Regions from separate parts of the Homo sapiens genome. Here region 2 is linked to region 1. Evidence: promoter capture Hi-C in 16 types of primary human blood cells and fetal thymus (Javierre and others, 2016). All regions are on one chromosome and are shown on one strand. The core of a region is centred on a gene start or on the middle of the fragment in contact, and the rest is flanking DNA. Distances in the headings are between cores, read along the strand shown. Region 1 holds the start of TCP1 (t-complex 1). Region 2 overlaps DYNLT1 (dynein light chain Tctex-type 1).

Region 1 (7,081 bases), core at 326-2,825:
GGAAACTAACACAACAGTTATGTGTACTTACACCAATATCATCCACCAACATTTTATCCAAGCCAACTGGACCAAGAGAACTTTTTACAATATTGGCAATCGAAGCTGCAGCCATAACTGTAGACAATCAATTAAAAATAAAAAAGAAATGAGGATAAGCCACAACTCTGAAAGACAGTAATTTCAGCCTAAAGGTAAATGACATCCAACAGCCCCCGTATTTCCCAAATCTACAAATCTGTGTTAATTATTTAAAAACCACCTACTAAGAGTGTAAATGGGGCCAGACACTGTGGCTCACAGGTGTAATCCCAACACTGCGAGGCCGAGGCAGGAGGATCGCTTGATGCCAGGAGTTTGAGACCCCTTTGGGCAACATAGCGAAACCCATTTCTACAAAAAATAAAAACAAAGCCGGATGCGGCGGCGCGGACCTGTGCTTGGAGAATGCAGTGAGCTATGATGGCACTCTCGTCTGGGCGACAGGTGGGACCCTGTCCCTAAACAAAGCGAGCCTATTTGGCACAGCTTTGATGCGGGGTGGAATCTGATGGCGGGGAAAAAAAAAAAAAGTAATAACCACCAATTTCATGCTCTGCCACTTCGTACAGCTATACCAGCCTTTTCCTTCAGATTCTGCAAGTTTTTTGCTCATTAAAACTCTCTTTATCTGTGAGGAGAGAAATCGGTAGTCAACGGGGAAGGTGGTGACTTTCAGATTTGTTTACGAAAAAAATTAGGAATCTATCAAGAAACAGTAAGCTCTGTAGGTATCCAAAGGCCTGACAGCAAACGCTCTGCTAAGTTAGCGCTGCCGTCTCCTGGGGTCAATGCACTCGAGTGGCGTTTCCTGGGCTAACTCTACTGTAAGAAGCTGTCAACCCGGATACGGCTGGACGCCGGACGCCCGACCTCGACTGCAGCTGCGGGCGGACAGGGCACCGGGCTCATCCGAGGGCGCGCGGATGGACCTACTCTTTTTCTGGTAAATGGTCCTAAAATAAAACCTGGCGTTTAACATGGACACTCAGGGGGTCGCCCTGAAACAAAAGGGGGTGCGAGGCGTGGCCCGCACGTGCGAGCCCGGGAGGCCCGCTTTCCCGCGGAGGGCGCGTTTCCAACGCCGCCCCGGACACCACATCCACGCGTTGCCGGTCTCAAAACCCTGCCGCGCGCGGCGGGGCTCCTCCTCGCTGTGGGAAAAGTGGGGCCACAGCGCCCTGCCCCAGAGAACGGCGGGTGGGCTGGGTCCGGCTGCGGGGCCCCGAGGCCCTTTCTGCGGAGGTAAAGGAGAGAAACGAGGGCAGCCGGGGTCCGGTCGCGGTGGGACTCGGCCCTCCCCGGCCGCAAACCCGACCCAGGCCCGGCCCGCCCTTACCGTTTTGGGAGCGGATCGTTTCCCCAGTGCTGCGGTCACCGAACACGGACAAAGGCCCCTCCATCTTGACGGCAGCGATACACGTCGAATTCTGCTTACACCGCGGGCAACCAGTATCGCGGCCCCTCGGCCGACCGGCGACCACAGCAGTGGCTGCGACGGCGTGGAGCGTACCCGAGCGATGTCCCAGGAGCTACTGGGTAACACACCACCCCACCCGCTTCCCGGCTGCCCCGGCCCGGCCGCGGGGCACGGCGGGAAGGAAAAAGAGGCAGGGACAACAGGGAGAGAAACAGGACTGTGACGGAAGTGAGGCTCCGGGGAAGGGGCGGGGTCGGCATTTTTGTCCAATTAGATAGCCGATGGGAAGGGCGCGAAAGCGGAGAACGGAAGTCGGATGTTGGACCGCTGGGAAGAGGTTGAACCTTCGCCTCAAACGATGTTGCGCAGACGCAGTGGGCCATTCTAGTGCCTTCTAGAAAAGGTTGTAAGAAGGGTGGAGCTTGGAGCTGGGGTGTAACTGGAGGGGCGGGCCCTTCTCCAAGTTAGAGTTGGGGTTCTGAGCGAGTCGTGCGTTTTAGGTTTAGTGTCTTTTCCTTGTCCCTGCTCGGGGAGCGTGAGGCAGATCGGCCGGCTTTGCTCCAGGCCTCAGGAGTGTAAGTTTAAGGGCGCGAACCTGGGTGGGACGGGGCAGTTTTTCCAGCGGGCCATACGGGAAAATTTTTGGTTCGAGGAAGACAACCACCCTTTTTAAGGAGAAAACTGCATCTTGCCCTGCCTTATTCCTACGCGGTGCCCAGGTGGGGTGTGTGTGGACCAGTCGATGACCGCCCAAGCTCTCCGAGTAGAAAACCCAAACATGGTTTTGTGGGGTGTGTGCCTTTGACCCCGGACTTAAGCAACAAGCGTGGTCTTGGGCGTAGCTACGAGGTGGTTGGTGGGCTCCAGGGCCTGCGTGCCCCTCGACGTGAGCGATGATTGGCGATGAAGGATAACAGATCGCCTTCTCGGCCACTCAGTGGCAGGGGACTTGCTACTTCCGGGTCGGTGGCGTCTGGCGTGGAGAGTTTGGGGATCTACAGCAGCCAAAGGCTTGTCCCTGACTTTATATGGCTGCTCCTGGCGAGCGACTGAGTCGTCCGTGAGGAAAAAGAGGCGAGGCTTTTCCGAGATCGTCTCAGCGATGGCGCTTCGGTCGCGGTTTTGGGGGTTGTTCTCGGTTTGCAGGAACCCTGGTAATTAGTCTTGCCCCCCTTCTCCCAGCTCACTCGCCTGGGCTTGCACAGTACATTGGAACGTGCGGGTTCTATTTTGTATTCGACGTGCCGGATCGAAATAGAGCTCGCGGCACTGCGAAGACCACAGTAGGAAGTTAAGGACGGGGTCAGTGCTGACTCCACCCTGTGGGCATACGTATTTTTCGTCCCCTCGGGCCTAAAGATTGGGGGTGTAAAAGCGGATAGACGTTAGAGCGGGTTCGTGCGCTGTCCATATCCGTCATTTTTAAGCCCTGTGCGGTTTTTCCCGTTGCCCAGGGTGCAGGTTCGCAGCCCTGTCAACCAGCTCCGAGCCGGCAGCGAAACCTGAAGTGGACCCTGTGGAAAATGAAGCTGTCGCCCCAGAATTCACCAACCGGAACCCCCGGAACCTGGAGCTTTTATCTGTAGCCAGGAAAGAGCGGGGCTGGCGGACGGTGTTTCCCTCCCGTGAGTTCTGGCACAGGTAATTAAATCTGCTTGTGATTGACAAGGGCAGTGCACCCTACAGACTATTTTCATTCATTCAACTCCAGGCACTCTCCCAGGTAGCTGCCATGCGGCGGGTAGAGGCAGGGTTCGCGGAGGGGCTGGAACAAACAACAAATAGGTGTGATGGGGGCTATTTAAAGAGGATGTTACAGTAGCGGACAGGATACCTGCCTGTCTGAGGTGACATTTAAGAAGGTGAGATCTGAAAGAGGAAGAAGCCTAGTCATCTGCCAGAAAGAGCAGTCCTAGCAAAGGAAACTGCTGGGGTGAGGAACTGAAGGGCTTGTGGATCTGAAGCTCAATGGGCAGAGGATGAATGGCCCAAGATGAACATGGAGGGGTAAGGAGGCGACAGATGATTAGCTTTGTAAGTCAAGATGAGCACTTTAGACTTTCTTTTCATTATAGTGGGAAACTACGAGAGGATTTAAAGCTTGAGCCCGAATTGGTTTTTCAAGATCATTCTGGCTGGGCGCATTGTCTCATGCCTGTAATCCCAGCACTTTAGGGAGCCAGCCGAAGAAGCCGGATCATCTGAGGTCAGGAGTTTGAGACCAACCTGGCCAACATGGTGAAACCCCGTCTCTACTAAAAATATAAAAATTAGAGGGGCGTGGTGGTGCACGCCTGTAATCCCAGCTACTCCAGTGGCTGAGGCACGAGAATCACTTGAACCCAGGAGGCGGAGGTTGCAGTGAGCTGAGCGCCTGGGCGACAGAGCAAAATTCTGTCTCAAAAAAAAAAAAATCATTTTAGCTGCTTTTTGGAAGATTAAATTTTTGAGGGAGCAGGACTTGAAGAAAGACCAGTTAGGAGTCTAGTATGACTTGAGATACTTTGTTATAAAGGTGGTTGTTTAATGAACACTTACATTTGCCAGGAATTATGCTACTTGCTTTATATGTTTTTTCTCATTTAATCCTTAAAATTACATCATGAAGCAGTTATAATTTCCCCCATTTTACAGGATCAAAGAAATTGAGGTTTAGGGAGACATGATTAGTAAGTGCCAGAGCTAAGATTTACATATGTTTTAACTGACCTCAGAGCCAGGACGCTAGGTTATTACCACTATACTACAGCATGTAAGTGTTTATCAGGTTTATCTGCTGCTTATCTGCTTGGTGAGGATTTTTTAGAATTTCTTAAGGACTTCTTAAGTACTATGTAAAGTTGTAAGAGTAAATTGGAAATCATTACTGTGTGATGTATTATTTATTTATTGAACAAGCATCATACCTGTATCACTTGCTAGGCATTGCGTTAGAGGCAGGAGTTACAAAGATAAAGTAGATGTTATCCCTGTCATCAAAAGTCTTAAGTTTCATAGTGGAAAGTGGAATGGGGATAATGATGTGTTACAGTTGCTGTAATACATTTTTACTCATAGAGGAGGGAGTCCAAGAAAGGGAGTAGGCAGTTCACTTTTTAAATAATCTGGATCTTAAGGCTAAAAATCTTTTGAAACACCCAACCTATTACTTTCTTTTTTCTTTGTTTTTGAGACAGGGTCTGGGTCTGTTGCCCAGGCTAGAATGCAGTGGTATGATATCTGCTTACTGCATCCTTGACTTCCCTGGGCTCCAGCAATCTTCCCACCTCAGCCTCCTGAGTGGCTGGGACTAGAGGCGCATGCCATTACTCCCAGCTAATTTGTTTTGTTTTGTTTGAGACAAGCTCTGGCTCTATCACCCAGGCTGGAGTGCAGTGGTACAGTATCAGCTGGCTGCAACCTCTGCCTCCCAGGCTCAAACGATTCTCCCATCTCAGCTTCCTGAGCATCTGGGACTGCAGGCACACACTACCATGGCCGGCTAATTTTTTTCTTTTTCTTTTTTTTTTTTTCTGGTATTTTTTGTAGAGATGGGGTTTTGCTGCTGCCCAGGCTGGTCTCGAGCTCTTGAGCTCGAGAGATCTGCCTGATTCAGCCTCCCAAGGTGCTGGGATTACAGACGTGAGCCACTGCACTCGGCCCCAACGCATTACTTTGATTTAATATTTGGATCATTAAAAATAACTAAAGATGTATTTCCTCATTTTTTCTCTGTCTGCCTTACTCGCAATATTAAAAGTAGAGAATTTCAGAATATTATAGTAGGAAATGACCTTTGACATAATGAATCGGGCCCTTCATTGAACAAATGGTTCAAGTGTCAGCAAACTACGGCCCGTGGGCCAAAGGTAGATTGTGAGCTAAAAACTTGTTTTTACTTTTTTTAAGTTAAAAAAAAAATCAAAAGAATATTTTGTGGCTTGGGAAAATTAAATGAAAATCAAATTTCGTTGCCCAGGTTCTTAGAACCTAGCTGTACCTACTCTCATTTGTTTACGCATCACCTGGCTGTTCTAGCACTACAATGGCTGAGTCGAACAGTTTCAACAGAAGCTATTGGACCTAGAAAGCCTAAAATATTTACTATCTGGCACTTTGTGGAAAAAGATTGTTGACTCCTGGTTTAACAGATTGTGATTTTTGGCCGGGCGCGGTGGCTCACGTTTGTAATCCCAGCACTTTGGGAGGTCGAGGCGGGCGGATCACGAGGTCAGGAGATCAAGACCATCCTGGCTAACACGGTGAAACCCCGTCTCTACTAAAAATACACAAAAAAATTAGCCAGGCGTGGTGGCAGGCACCTGTAGTCCCAGCTACTAGGGAGGCTGAGACAGGAGAGTGGCGTGAACCTGGGAGGCGGAGCTTGCAGTGAGCCGAGATCGCGCCACTGCACTCCAGCCTGGGCAACAGACTGAGACTCCGTCTCAAAAAAAAAAAAAGAGATTGTGATTTTTTACTAGAGCCACCAGGAAAACCAGGAGTAGACTCCATATTTCCAAATCTAATGCCTCTTCTATTTCACATTGAGAATCCTAGTGAGAATCTAATGATTTGGGTGTGTTTTCTTTAACTTAAACTTGACTTTTTAAAGGGTAACATATACGTATGTTATAAAATCCAAAGGGAGTACAGTTTCTTGTGTGTCCTTCTAAAGATTGTCTATGCATATAAGCAAAAACTGTTAAAAACAATAAATCTTAGCATACGATAAACACTTCCGCATCTTTCTTCACCACCACCCTCAACCACCCCAAGCACGCACTTAAAAATACATCTTGGAGATTCTTCATGGTAGTTAAGAGCATTGACTCTGGAGCCAGACACTGGGACTTAAACCATGGCTCCATTACTTACTAGTTTTAATCTTTTTCAAGTTACTTAACCTTTCTGTGTTAGTTTCTGCAGCTAAAAAAAAATATAGAAAAAATAATAGAATTGAGACATAAGCTTTATCTATAAACCGTTAAGACAGGCCTGGCATATACTAAGTGCTCAGTAAATGTTAACTATTATCTTCATCATTATAAAGCATTATTTCATTCATTTCAGTAACTGTATGGAATACTATTGCATGGATTTTACTTAACTCGCTCCTAGAGGGTGATTATCTTTTATGATTACAGTGTTGCATCGAATTGTCTTGTCCATGCATTTTGTTAGTGAGATTGAGCATATTTTTGTGAATTTGAGTCATTAATATTTTTCTTTTCTGTGAACAGTCTGTTTGGATAATGCTTTGCCTATTAAGTTATGAAGGGGTGGGTTGCCCCTCCTCACCTGTGGGTGTTTCTTGTTAGGTGGAACGAGAGACTTGGAAAAGAAAAAGACACAAAGTATAGAGAAAGAAATAAGGGGACCCAGGGAACCAGCGTTCAGCATATGGAGGATCCCGCCAGCCTCTGAGTTCCCTTAGTATTTATTGATCATTCGTGGGTGTTTCTCTGAGAGGGGGATGTGTCAGGGTCACAAGACAATAGTGGGGAGAGGATTAGCAGACAAACATGTGAACAAAGGTCTTTGCATCATAGACAAAGTAAAGAATCAAGTGCTGTGCTTTTAGATATGCATACACATAAACATCTCAATGCTTTACAAAGCAGTATTGCTGCCCGCATGTCCCAC
Region 2 (7,081 bases), core at 2,406-4,905, 1.2 Mb before region 1:
AAAACTCATATTTGGAAGCAAAATGAAAAGCAAGTAAAATGTTTTAAATGGTTCATGGAAAACGTATTTGGGTAGAAGGCAACTCGTGCTTCCGGAAGGGGTTCCCTGTCCTCCATGTGTCCACATGGCGGTCAGGTAGGGACGACCTGTTCTGTAAAGTCCTTGGCACTGCTGAATCTGTGGCATCATAGAAGGCCCTGGAGCTTCCCCGTTCCTTTCAGTCAGGGACTCCATATAGAGTCTCATGTGGACGTCTCCCGTGCTTTCCTCTTGACCTCTACAGTCACACTTCTGTTAACATCTGGTAACTGTGGGCAACCTGACTGATGCCGTCTTGGCAATTGAGGTCCAGAAGATGATAGTTCCGCAACGCAAGCAGTACCTACTTTTTTTCTTCATCTATGCATTGACTCTCAGATTACCATGCAGAGCTTCACGTTATCATCCACGTTAAGTAGTGCTAGGTAGGACCTTAGAGATGTTCATGAGAAACTATTTGTTATGACTTTCCTTTGTATCTTTCCTTTTAATTTAAACTTTAATGATAATGTACTTTTAATATGGATTCTATTCACATTTGTTTTAAAAACCTTGTAAATATGAATGTTTAAGACAACTTACTGCAAGGGTAATTCAAGTTTACATGATTTTTAAATTTGCAATGATGTTTTTTTTATTCTGTGTATTGAAAAAAATTTTCTGTTACCAAATTTTACAACTTCTAATAAGACTACTATAACTTTATGTAAACTGATGAAGATGTGCTGATTAACATATTCTGTGATATGGTTTACAACTTTTAATCATAATTGTCCATGATTTTGGAATGCTGTTATTTATCAGTAAATGTAAAATATTTGAGGCATTTAGCCATACACACACTAGAACTTTTTAAAACTTTGTCCTATAGTGTAATTATAAACTGATGACTATTATCTTCATACATTGAGTCTTCATGCATCAATGAAATGAAAAATATAGGATTATTTATTTACTTTTTGTAACTAAGTGGGAAATAAGAAAAAAAGTTAGAAAGTACTTAAGGGGAAAATCGTTCTTACTAAGTCATGTATTTTCAACTTGTCTTCCCTGGTATATCATAAATACCGACATATTACATACCCCATGTAAAATTTTGCTTAAACTCTCTAGCACTTGGCATGTAGAATATGTACCATAGGTATCAGGTTAAAACACTAAAGTCTGCCAGAAACTTTTGACAGTAGCAAGAAAATTGTTGAAGAAAAAATAAATTATTTACTGAGGGTAGTTATGTTAAAGTTTTGCGAACTTAAAGGGCTGACTTTAGTTCCTTCATGGTAATGGCTTGAGTAACATCATCTTTGGGATTTTTTAAATACTGGTCCAGTCTAGGAGAACCTGGAAGATGACCAGAGGTATTTCAGTTTCCCTAGGGAGAGCTTCGTTATCCATGTGGATGATAAGTCTGCTTGATTTATTATTAAATCATTATAGCAGTGAAGTGGTGCCATTTTCTCTCTCTTAAGCCCCATTTGAAAGGCTAGAGAAGGGGATATATATACTATGTTCAAGGTTTGTAAGGTTGTTAATGTACATAATTGCAGATTGCAATAAAAGCTTAGATACATTTTGTAAACCCAACCCACTAAATGAGCAGGTTACAAGACAAATGTCACCAGCCTCAAGTATTTTATGAACTATTTACTGAGGGTAGTTATGTTAAATAGATTATAATGTGGTAAATTATTTCCTGAATCCTTTATCACAGGAAAAACACAGACCCTCATAAAAGGGATAATTAAAACGGATGTGTCTGAACATTTAGTGAAGATGAGACTTAAAACATGAAAGTGTATTTGTGTATTTTGAGGGTTTTAGAAACCGGTTGCCTTAGAGGTTAGACTTTTGAAGAAAAAAAAAAAAAGATACAGATCTTTTCCCCTGGCCAAAGGGAAGTTGTATTAGTCTGTGACATCTTGTGATGCTGTTTATCTTGGTTTGACATTGGAGATACGCTAGTAACTGTGATACCATACTATAAAACAGAAGAATTTTCTGCTACTAAAAACTGCCTTTTTACAAAATGACTGTAAATATTTGTAAAATAAAATAACACTAAACTTTAAGCCCAAAAGGAGAGATAGAGCCATGTGTTCAGTTGTGGACCTGTCCGTGGGGCACAGTGCCACCCCATCACAGTGTTGCTGTCATCAGGCAAAAGTGAATGTTTGTTTATGGCAAATTCGTCTTTTGCGAATGGCTTAATTCTGACACTACCTTTCTGGGAAATGTTAATAAATTTTTAATATTCACTTCTATGTGTCTTGATTTGTTTGCTCTTTGTGTGTGGAGTTAATTTGGCCTTGCAGACATAAATGCTTTAATAAAGCGGCTTTGGAGACAACGGCAGGGCTTTTCCATTTCAGCAGGCAGGCACGGAGGTATCTTTATTGCCATGTCTAATGTGGCCTGGGGAAGAGCACTCAAGATGGAGACAAGGCGTGGGTTTGGGCCCAGCTCCCAACTTGGATGTGTGACTTTAAACCAATCAGATAACCTCCAAACACATTTTCTGAGATTTTTAAATGACTGCAAATTGTTGAAGACACAGAATGAATGATTGTGAAAACCATTTTGTAAGCTCTGAAGTACTAAGACAATTTGTGAGCCCTACAGAGAACACAGGATTAACAGTTAAGGTGTTACAGCTTTGGGCCAAGTGTGAGTTAGAGCTCTCTGGCTAAGAGAATAGAAATTGGTTTGCCCACCTCCCACCCCTTCACCTCTAGAAGAGGAGGGCTTAAGAATGGGAGGTGTGATGCCGAGGGGTAGGAATCTAACCAGAACCCAGCAGAGCCGTCAGGATCCTGGTCCCACGGGTAAAATGAGTACATCATGGAGAGGACCACAGCAGAACTTTTTTTTTTTTGGTTGTATATATATATATATATATTTTTTTTTTTTTTTTTTTTTTTTTTTTTTGAGGCGGACTCTTGCTCTTGTCACCCAGGCTGGAGTGCAGTGGCGGGAACTTGGCTCACGATCTTGGCTCACTACAACCTCTGCCTCCTGGGTTCATGCCACTCTCCTGCCTCAGCCTCCCGAGTAGCTGGGACTACAGGCGCCCGCCACCACACCTGGCTAATTTTTGGTATTTTTAGTAGAGACGGGGTTTCACCGTGTTAGACAGGATGGTCTTGATCTCCTGACCTCATGATCCGCCTGCCTCAGCCTCCCAAAGTGGTGGGATTACAGGTGTGAGCCACTGCGCCTGGTCTGGTTGTATAGATTCTGTAGCCACTCACTATGAAGAAATCGTTTATGATACTATGCAGACTATGAAGAACACAACAGACTTTAGATTTGAATAATTTATTCTAACAAAAGTATAAAGTATGGAAAATTAGTGTATTTGAATCATTTCAGAGAGTAGAGCAAGTTTCACACTAGCAGATTTCAGATTTTAGCACCTTTGAAATGAAATATTCAGAGTTAAGACAAGTGGCAACGCAGGCTGCAGGTGACCTACAGGGATACTCATCTGACTTCGGTGCCATTCACATCACAGTGCGGTCATTTGGTTTTTTCCTCTACATTGTGAAAGTGCCACAAAACAAAGAGAATGAGAAAAGAGTTCACTGAATTCATGGCTGGTGGTTAGAGGATGAACTAGAGACAAAAGGAGAAAGGCCATAGGCTGGACTGCAGGTCAAATAGACAGTCCGAAGGCACTGACGATGCAGTACATGGTCTTATTCTCCCATCGCACAGTGCAGCTCCCTGCGGGAGGGAAGAGAGCAGCATTTACGGCAGGGAAAGCTGGGGGACGACGTTTTACTCACAATAAGGCCAACATTCAAGTACCCATCTCTATGCTACACAAAGAACCTTGGCAAGTCTATTATTAAATGTTTTAAAAGGTGATAAACATGCATTGCATTCAAAGATAGGAAACTTCCAGTCATATATTTCACACAACAAAACTTCACAAACATGAATGAAAATCATACCGTCAGTAGAGCTGTCCCAGAAGCAGGAACTTGCTGTGTGTAATCCAGCTCCATTCTTCTGCATAATTACACAGGTCACTTAAGTTAAAACAAATTTTTGTTAGAGAAGTCTACTGGGTAACACAAATGTCATTCTGTCCACTTTTAGCAAACGTACAATGTATGTAGCTCCACGTGGTTGATGTTCTCGATAAAAATTATAGGGACAGATTGCCTTGTCTCACTATATTGACAAATTATAGGTGCTCCTTGACTTACAACATCCCATAAACCCATCATAAATCAACAATATATGAAAATGTAAGTTGCAAATGCACTTAATACCCTGGTAAATCCATCAAAGTTGAAAAATTCTAAGTTGAGCCACTGTCAGCTGGGGGCTGTCCACACTTCCTCTATGCTTCACTTGTTCTAAAAGCATCTGATGGGACCTCCTGTAAGATCCCGCTTCACATACGATCTGCAATTGTACCAGCAGCCAAATGGTCAAGCGTACGCTAACGTATACTACACACACGACCGACTCCCACCAGGAGCCTTCCTTGAGTTGAGCCACGTTAGCTGTTGTTTCTGGTACTGGATGCCCCTCTGATCAGTGTTAAAAAACCATCCCGCAAATATAAAAGAAACAAGACTCCATTACCGATGTATTTAAATGGTTTTCCCAGCTTGGTGAGTTGGCTTAAAGTTTGTTCTACTACATTTGTGGTCCACTGGTTCACTTTGCTGTGTTGATAAGCGTTACCACCAATTGCGCTTTCTATAGCCTAGAAAACAAAGCACAAAGCGCGTCCCGGTTAACCAAATGCACCCACACCACCTTTCAATCAGGAACTGACGGCACCCCAAGAAGTGATTTATGAAAAGTTTATTTTTAATCATGAGGGTGCCTTTGCAAATATACTTTTAATAGCATTATATTTCATTTAAATAAGTTTGAAATTTGCTTCAAAAATTCATAGTCTGTCAAATTATTTACACATTTTGACCTAATAATCACATTTCATGTTCACTACTATTAATACATTTTTTTTCCTGTTGAGGCTAGAAAGTATTTTGCCTATTCATTTCTTAAAAGTATATTACTTTTATCTACTACTACCTAACATACACTAATACTATATATTAGATGAATTGTATTTGTACAACTGACAATATACAAAGCTATCCAAATAATCATATATTAAAAAATACTTTTATCCAGCATTGTCTGAGAACATGTTACCACATTAAGTGCATTTTTCAGATAACTAAAAGCCCTTTATATTCCAAAACTTATTTTAGGTTTATGATGAGATTTTTTTATTTTTACTTTTCTGAGGCAGGGTGTCATGTTGCCCAGGCTGGAGAGCAGTGATGGAATCTTGGCTCACTGCAGCCTTGACCTCCTGGGCTCAAGCAATCCTCCCACCTCAGCTTCCCTCCTGGGCTCAAGCAATCCTCCCACCTCAGCTTGTCCAGTAGCTGGGACTGCAGGCATGTGCCACCACGCCTGGCTAGTTTTTTGTAGAGATGGGGTCTTGCTCTGTTGCCCAGGCTGCTCTCAAATGCCTGGGCTCAAGTGATCCTCCTGCCTCAGCCTCCTAAAGTGCTGGGATTACAGGCATAAGCCACAGCACCCAGCCCAACTTTTTTTCTTTATTATACGTTTACTTCTTTATCTATGCTGTATTCTTTGGGGGTTATCTGACAATGCAAGCTCATTGTCGCTGCTCTTGCTAAGCTTATCATTATGATATTGCCATTGTATGATTTTCTGAGTTTTTCATTGTCAGCTCCCCTTTCACATGGATGCCAGTGTGCTTGCATCTCAGCAACTTTATTCTCTACCCCTAACTTGCTGTGCTGGAAACCAGGAACCTGAGTTTCTATGACAGTTATGACCTAAAGTGAAAATAACAACATTCAGTGAGGGCCAAGGTCTGTCCTCAGACAGGCAGAGCAAACCAGCAGTCCAGGGATCTGAGCTGTGCATGGTGGTGATGGACTGGGATCTGATGCCTGGGGCTTAGATCTGGCGACCTTGCTTTTGAGGACCTAAAACCTCCCTAGGTCACTCTGATTTCTACCCACTGACCTGCTGATCATCTCCCTGAGACTCTTGAGTAGTCACGTTACACATAGGGCTGGCTTACTTCTTGTCCTCGGCCACTGTGCTCCCTCCCAGCTCAGAGGCTACAAGAGGGCTGGGGGGCCAGAAGTCCCGGTTTAAGAGAACAGCAGTATTACTAGACCTGGGCATTGTCAAAGGGTAGGGGGGGCTTTGTTCAAGCTAAACCTCTCCCGTCAAAGGGTGGGGGAGGCTTTGTTGAAGGTAAACCTCTCCCTCCGCCAGCTCTCCCTCCGCACATACTTTGAAATTCAGTTTTTCAAGGAGGAGGGAACCCTCCACCAATTTTGGACCTGCGCAAATTGACTACTACCCAATATTTAGGGTCACTTGAGTACAGAATTACCTATTGCGGCGGCAAAAAAGCTGTTGAGGCCAGTGACACAAGTTCAAGTAACACTGCAATGTCACCTCATGTTTCCATGTGGATTGGAAATGTGTTTGTTTTGTTTTGTTTTTTTAAGACAGAGTCTTGCTCTGTCGCCCAGACTGGATTGCAGTGGCGTGATCTTGGCTTACTGCACCCTCCATCTCCCGGGTTCAAGCGATTCTCCTGCCTCAGCCTCCCAAGGAGCTGGGACTACAGGCATGCGCCACCAAGCCTGGCTTATTTTTGTATTTTTAGTAGAGACGGGGTTTCACCATGTTGGACAGGATGGTCTCGATCTCTTGACCTCATGATCCGCCCACCTCGGCCTCCCAATGTGCTGGGATGACAGGTGTGAGCCATCGCGCCCAGCATGGAAATGTGTACTTTCAATTGCACTTGCTAATTGAAAGCTGGTAACCAAGTCAAAGATAAGGCAGAAAACAACTGCGGCAGAACTAGACTTCCCAACAAGCCCCCTCCACTGTTCCCAGTTCTGGTGTAATCCACCCACCTTCCTGCCCCCTGCTGTGTTCCACGTGAAACTGTGTATTTAGAAAAACCATGAAAACCAAACGTACAGATCCTGCAAAGCAACCAGAAAGTCACTCC

The links. The method cuts DNA at HindIII sites, captures the fragments that hold promoters and counts their contacts. A CHiCAGO score of 5 or more calls a contact.
Region 2: a contact is called between a fragment that was not itself captured here and the fragment with the promoter of TCP1 in region 1, in 1 of 17 cell types (neutrophils). The highest score is 5.7, in neutrophils.

What each region holds. Positions count from the first base shown.
Region 1 is chr6:159,788,027-159,795,107 of GRCh38, forward strand. TCP1 (t-complex 1) reads right to left here and starts at 1,576. Exons shown (of 12, transcript NM_030752.3): 1 at 1,379-1,576; 2 at 32-117. The coding sequence starts at 1,442. It overlaps MRPL18 (mitochondrial ribosomal protein L18), which reads left to right and starts at 2,441. Exons shown (of 4, transcript NM_014161.5): 1 at 2,441-2,613; 2 at 2,914-3,100. The coding sequence starts at 2,562. RefSeq lists enhancers at 774-1,438, 1,439-2,102, 2,359-2,538, 2,569-2,628, 6,941-7,081. The HindIII fragment of the contact is 4,019 bases long and covers 1-3,557 here.
Region 2 is chr6:158,633,136-158,640,216 of GRCh38, forward strand. DYNLT1 (dynein light chain Tctex-type 1) reads right to left here. Exons shown (of 5, transcript NM_006519.4): 3 at 4,636-4,759; 4 at 3,993-4,070; 5 at 3,339-3,762. The coding sequence ends at 3,692. TMEM181 (transmembrane protein 181) reads left to right here. Exons shown (of 17, transcript NM_001376852.1): 17 at 1-2,294. Among named protein-coding and RNA genes, the nearest start is that of DYNLT1, 8.1 kb to the right of the region's middle. The HindIII fragment of the contact is 4,116 bases long and covers 1,598-5,713 here.